2 separate regions of the Homo sapiens genome follow, and region 2 is linked to region 1. The links are contacts of gene promoters, found by promoter capture Hi-C in human tissues and cell types (Jung and others, 2019). All regions are on one chromosome and are shown on one strand. Each heading gives the region's core, a stretch centred on a gene start or on the middle of the fragment in contact. The rest is flanking DNA. Distances are from core to core; before and after follow the strand shown.

Region 1 (2,965 bases), core at 8-2,507:
ATCTGCTAGCCATCCTTTCCTCCAGACACAGTTGCTTGAAGAGTACATGTGAAGTGGAAAACTGGAGACAAGAGTAATACCTAGGTTTGAGTCATTGTTTGGGTCCCAGCCCAAGGACATTGCTCCCCAGGGCACGTTGACACAATGTAAAGAATCTACATGGTGTTTCCTGTTGGGGGTCAGGGGTGGTTACCAGTAGTCAACCAGATATTGCATGTCTTGCACCAGAGGGCAATGCAGTGAGAGATGTATACAGGGGTCTCTGAAAACCTCACATTTAGGAAAAGAAAGCCTTTTAACCAAGGCCAAAAATGTTAAATGGCTTGCCCAAGATTTCACAGCTAGGAAGTGACAAAGCTGGGATTAAACCCTAATTACAGAGCCCATGGTCTTTACTACAGGCTTGTGGGTGGCAGAGGACCCAGTGACTGGGAGAGTTTTCACAGTGGAAGTGAAAACGGGTGAGCAGGATAGCAAGGTTTCCTGAAGAAGTAGATGGGGAAGGAAAAACAGCATGGGTCATAATATCCCTTAAAGATATAGCTTCAAGGACTTCCATGGCAGAAAAATTCAAGTTACCCAAGAGGTGAGCACACAGCTAAACTTCTCTTTTCCTTCGCTTCTTTGATGGTATCCGAACTGCTTTGAAGAGTTTCCTTGAAAAACAAAGCTCCCCAGATTGCATTCCTGGGGGCTGTCAAAGAAACTGTAATCCTTTAATAAGCCCTCCAGCACCTCTGGTATCTGGATACTCCGGGGACTTGGAGAATCCTTAACGTCTCTATTTTTTGGTTTGCCTTTTTCCTGGGACCGCCGGGACGCAGCGATCCATTTCGATATTGAAACTGTGCCAAGGCTAAGGCTTAGGTGGAAACAAATGGAATATATCCTTGTCACTGACCCGGCTTTGCCAGCATGCCCCCTCATCATCCCAAGTGCCCCTGTGGGCTTCCTCCCACCTGCCTGCCCTGCTTCCTTTACAAGAGGCTAAGCCGACACCACGCGAGTGTGTACGCGCTGGGGACTGAGCCCCCGAAGCGAAGCCCTGTCGGAGGAGTTTCAGGCGGGAGTGGGAACGGCTGGGCGTGGGGTCAGCAACGGCGCCACCCGGTAGGGTGGGGGGAGCCAGGCTTGTCAGAGCCAGAGCGCGTCACCGTCGCCGCGAGAGACGCCGCGCTGCCCAATAGGCAGAGGCGCTCCCTAGCAGCCTGGTGGGAGCAGAGATATAAAAGTGCTCCAACAAACCCGGAGCTGGCGTGCCGACCGCGGGCTGGTGGCGGGCGGCGCGGTGCTCCGCGCGTCCGGGCTCCCTGGCTCCTCGGGACGGCCTTGTATGCTGTGCGCCCCGCACCCCGGCTGCGCGCTCCGATCCCAGCGGGAGGGGACGCCCGGCCCGCAGGCTCCCAGGGGAGGGGTGGCTCCTGCAAAATGGTCCCTCACCTCTTGCTGCTCTGTCTCCTCCCCTTGGTGCGAGCCACCGAGCCCCACGAGGGCCGGGCCGACGAGCAGAGCGCGGAGGCGGCCCTGGCCGTGCCCAATGCCTCGCACTTCTTCTCTTGGAACAACTACACCTTCTCCGACTGGCAGAACTTTGTGGGCAGGAGGCGCTACGGCGCTGAGTCCCAGAACCCCACGGTGAAAGCCCTGCTCATTGTGGCTTACTCCTTCATCATTGTCTTCTCACTCTTTGGCAACGTCCTGGTCTGTCATGTCATCTTCAAGAACCAGCGAATGCACTCGGCCACCAGCCTCTTCATCGTCAACCTGGCAGTTGCCGACATAATGATCACGCTGCTCAACACCCCCTTCACTTTGGTAAGGGGCCCGCTGCCTGCCGCCCCACCTTCTGTCTTCGTCTCCCTTTCCTCTCTCAGTTCTCTGGCCTCCCTCTGCCGTTCTGCGTCTCCCTGTGGGTCCCCACTTCTCTCTCCACATCTCTCTTCCTCCTCATTTCTCCTCTCCTCTGCCTCTGTCTTCCTGTCCTAGTCTCTTTTCTCCCTCCTCTGTCATCTCGGTTCTTGTATCTCTCCTGTTTTTCTTAGTCTTTCTTTCAGTCTCTGTCTCTCTCTCTGAAGTCTTTCTGTCTCTCTTCTCTATCTCTCAGTGTCCTCATCTTTTTTTTTTTTTTTGTCTTTCAGCCTCCCTATTCATCTGTCTCTGTCTCCTCACCTGTTATCTCTTTTTCTTCTTGTCAGTCTCTCTGTGATTTTATTTTTCTATTCTCTCTCCTCTCCTCTCCTCTCCCCACCTCTCCTCTCTTCCTCTCTCCCCTGCCTCACTCTCTGATTTCTCCCCACTTTTTTCTGTCTCATCGCCTTATCAGCCAGAGCTTCTGCGGCGGTGGCATTGGGTCAATGGTTTGAGTGTCTGCAGCCAGCTGGAAATGAATGACCATTTCCTGTTTAATCTCACTGGGTCTGGGCTTGCTTGATAATTGAGCAGTAAATCAATGCCCCTGAAATGTCAGCAGAGATGATCAGGTCCCCCTCCCTCTGAATTGCAGCCTGTTCAGTGCCCAGCCGTACCCATGGGATACTGCTTTGTGCTACAACTGAAATATCAAACAATTGCTAATTGTTAATGGAACATTAAGTGCATTTTCCCAGACCACTTATTTAAAGTGCATTTCCCTTCTGTGGGTTGATAATGAGGCTGTGTTTGAGGTCTGTGTTGAGGAAGAAATGAGGGGAGGTGGGCTTGGGCCCCAGAAATCGGGCAGGCTGGGGGCATTTGCACATTGGCAGCTGATGGGATTCTTCCCCAAGCCCTGGCTACTTAGCGCTGGTGGTGTCCCGCTGTGACCGGGGAGTGTGGCTCTCATGGATGATTTGGGACTGTAAGGGCGATGACTGAGCAACCATAGTGACAGTTATACTGCATGTTTCTCTAGTGTGTTATATTTTTTCATTTTATGGAATAACTTTGTCATTTGAGTGATTACTAAAGCAATATCTATTAATCCCTC
Region 2 (3,112 bases), core at 557-3,056, 43 kb after region 1:
GATAATATCCTGAAGAGTGTTTTCTAGCTTGGTTCCATTCCCCCCATCACTTTCAGGTACACCAATCGATGTAGATTTGGTCTTTTCACATAGACTCATGTTTCTTGGAGGCTTTGTTTGTTTCTTTTTACTCTTTTTTTCTCTAAACTTCTCCTCTCACTTCATTTCATTCATTTGATCTTCAGTTGCTGATACCCTTTCTTTCATCGAATCGAATCGGCTACTGAAGCTTGATCGAATCAGCTACTGAAGCTTGTGCATGCATCACATAGTTCTCCTGCCATGGTTTTCAGCTCCATCAGGTCATTTAAGGTCTTCTCTATGCTGTTTATTCTAGTTAACCATTCATCTCATCTTTTTTCAAGGTTTTTAGCTTCTTTGTGATGTGTTTGAACATCCTCCTTTAGCTCAGAGAGGTTTGTTATTACCAATCTTCTGAAGCCTACTTCTGTCAGCTCATCAAAGTTATTCTCCATCCAGCTTTGTTCCATTGCTGGTGAGGAGCTGTGTTCCTTTGGAGGAGAAGAGGAGCTCTGATTTTCAGAATTTTCAACTTTTCTGCTCTGCTTTCTCCCCATCTTTGTGGTTTTATCTACCTTTCATCTTTGATGATGGTGACCTACAGATGGGGTTTTGGTGTGGATGTCCTTTTTGTTGCTGTGATGTTATTCCTCTCTGTTTGTTAGTTTTCCTTCTAACACTCAGGACCCTCAGCTGCAGGTCTCTTGGAGTTTGCTAGAGGTCCACTCCAGACCCTGTTTGCCTGGGTATCACCAGCAGGGGCTGCAGAACAGTGAATACTGCAGAACAGCAAGTGTTGCTTTCTGATCCTTCCTCTGGAAACTTCGTCTCAGAGGGGCATCCAGCTGTATGAGGTGTCAGTCGGCCCCTACTGGGAGGTGTCTCCCAGTTAGGCTACTTGGGGGTCTGGGACCCACTTGAGGAGGCAGTCTCTCCGTTATCAGGTCTCAAACTCCATGCTGGGAGAATCACTACTCTCTTCAAAGCTGTCAGACAGGGATGTTTAAGTCTGCAGAAGTTTCTGCTGCCTTTTCTTCAGCTATGCCCTGTCCCTAGATGTGGAGTCTACAGAGGCAGGCAGGCATCCTTGAGCTGTGGTTGGCTCCACCCAGTTCGAGCTTCCTGTCACTTTGTTTACCTAGTCAAGTCTCAGCAATGGCGGATGCCCCTCTCCCAGCCTCCTTGTTGCCTTGCAGTTGGATCTCAGACTGCTGTGGTAGCAGTGAGCAAGGGTCTGTCGTCATGGGACTCTCCAAGCCAGGTGCGGGATATAATCTCCTGGTGTGCCATTTGCTAAGACCATTGGAAAAGTGCAGTATTAGGGTGGGAGTGTCCCGATTTTCTGGGTAATGTCTGTCATGGCTTCCCTTAGCTAGGAAAGGGAATTCCCTGACCCCTTGTGCCTCCCAGGTGAGGTGATGCCCCACCCTGTTTCAGCTCCCACTCTGTGGGCTGCATCCACTGTCCAACAAGTCCCAGTGAGATGAACCTTGTACCTCAGTTGGAAATGCAGAATTCACCCATCTTCTGTGTCACTCATGCTGGGAGCTGTAGACTGGAGCTGTTCCTATTTGGCCATCTTGGAGGGAATCCTGACTTTTGTATTTTTTGTAAAGATGAGGTCTTGCCATTTTGCCCAGGCTGGTCTCTAACTCCTGGCCTCAAGTGACTCACTACCTGCTTCAGCTTCCTAAAGTGCTGGGATTACAGGCGTGAGCTACTGTCCCTGGCCCAAATGACTGTTTTCTTATATTCCTAGTGTGACTGCATATTCCTTTTTGAAATATGTCTGCTTTTTTCTCTTAATAGTCTCTCCTTGTATTGTGAACGCTATTCCTTCTTTTTATGTCTTTGAACAGGTAAGTCATTTGCTAAGTCCTTCAGAGATTGAACTATTTTCTATGATTTCTTGACCTCAAATTTTCCAGTTTGTTGTAACTGTTAACTCTCATTTATGAAGGTGAATTTCCATGTGTGTTTTGTAATTTTTGCCTATGAGCTCATATTTGGCAAGAATTGTTTTTTATAGAAGTACTGTGGAAGTGCTATGTTTGCACAGGTATTATGATGAATAAGTTGACATTTGCCTCTGTCAGGGGCCCTGAATTTTAGATGAATTGTTTTGTGATTTCATCAAGCTTTATTTTTTGACTGCATCGTAATTTAAAAATTTGTTCATTCTGTAATCTTTTCCCATACCTAGATGAAGGTGGACAGACTATATGACTTTTAAAAATAAGCTTCTATCTTTTAAAATAGTTTTATACATACAGAAAATTTGCAAAGGCAGTACAGAGAGTTCCCTATATCCCATATCTAATTTTTCTTATTATAAATATCTAACATTGGTATGACATATTTGTCAAAATATTGAACCAATACTGACACATTACTATTAACTAAAGTCCATGCTTTATTCAGATTTCCTTAGGTTTTACCTAAGGTACTTTTCCTGTTTCAGGATTCCCTCCAGTCCATCACATTTCATTTTATCTTATTTTATTTCATTTCATTTCATTATATTTCAATCTTCATGTATCCTTAAGCTCCTCTCAGCTGTGATAGTTTCTCCGCCTCTCCTTGCTTTTGATGACCTCAACAGTCTGAAGGTGTACTGGTCAGACATTTTGAAGACCGTCCTTCAACTGAGATTTGTGTGATTTTTTTCTCATGATTAGGTGGGGTTTTGGATTTTTGGGGGATAAAGACCACAGAAGTAAAGTGCTATTTTTATCACATTATATCAAAACATGAATTGTCACTACTGATGTTAAAATCTGGCCAAGTTACTGTTTCTCAGGTTTTTCCACCATGTGTTAGAGTTCTTCAGAAGGACAGAACCTATAGGATATATGCATATATAAAAGGGAATTTATTAGGGAGAATTGGCTCACACAGTTACAAAATGAAATCCCATGATACGCCATCTGCATGGGGAAAGAAAGAAGCTGGTAGTGGCTCAGTCCAATTATGAAAACCTCACACCCAGGAAAGCCGACAGTGCAGCCTTCAGTCTGTGGCCAAAAGCTAGAGAGACCCCAGGAAGCCACTGGTGCAAGTCCCAGAGTCCAAAGGTTGAAAAATCTGGAGT

What was found. Contacts are between HindIII fragments. The study calls those that stand out against the background at their distance.
Region 2: a contact is called between a fragment that was not itself captured here and the fragment with the promoter of GPR83 in region 1, in 1 of the 25 tissues and cell types used here (H1 embryonic stem cells).

Annotation. Positions count from the first base shown.
Region 1 is chr11:94,399,711-94,402,675 of GRCh38, reverse strand. It overlaps GPR83 (G protein-coupled receptor 83), which reads left to right and starts at 1,257. Exons shown (of 4, transcript NM_016540.4): 1 at 1,257-1,815. The coding sequence starts at 1,429. The HindIII fragment of the contact is 20,224 bases long and covers 1-2,965 here.
Region 2 is chr11:94,357,223-94,360,334 of GRCh38, reverse strand. No RefSeq gene overlaps it. Among named protein-coding and RNA genes, the nearest start is that of GPR83, 43 kb to the left of the region's middle. The HindIII fragment of the contact is 3,129 bases long and covers 242-3,112 here.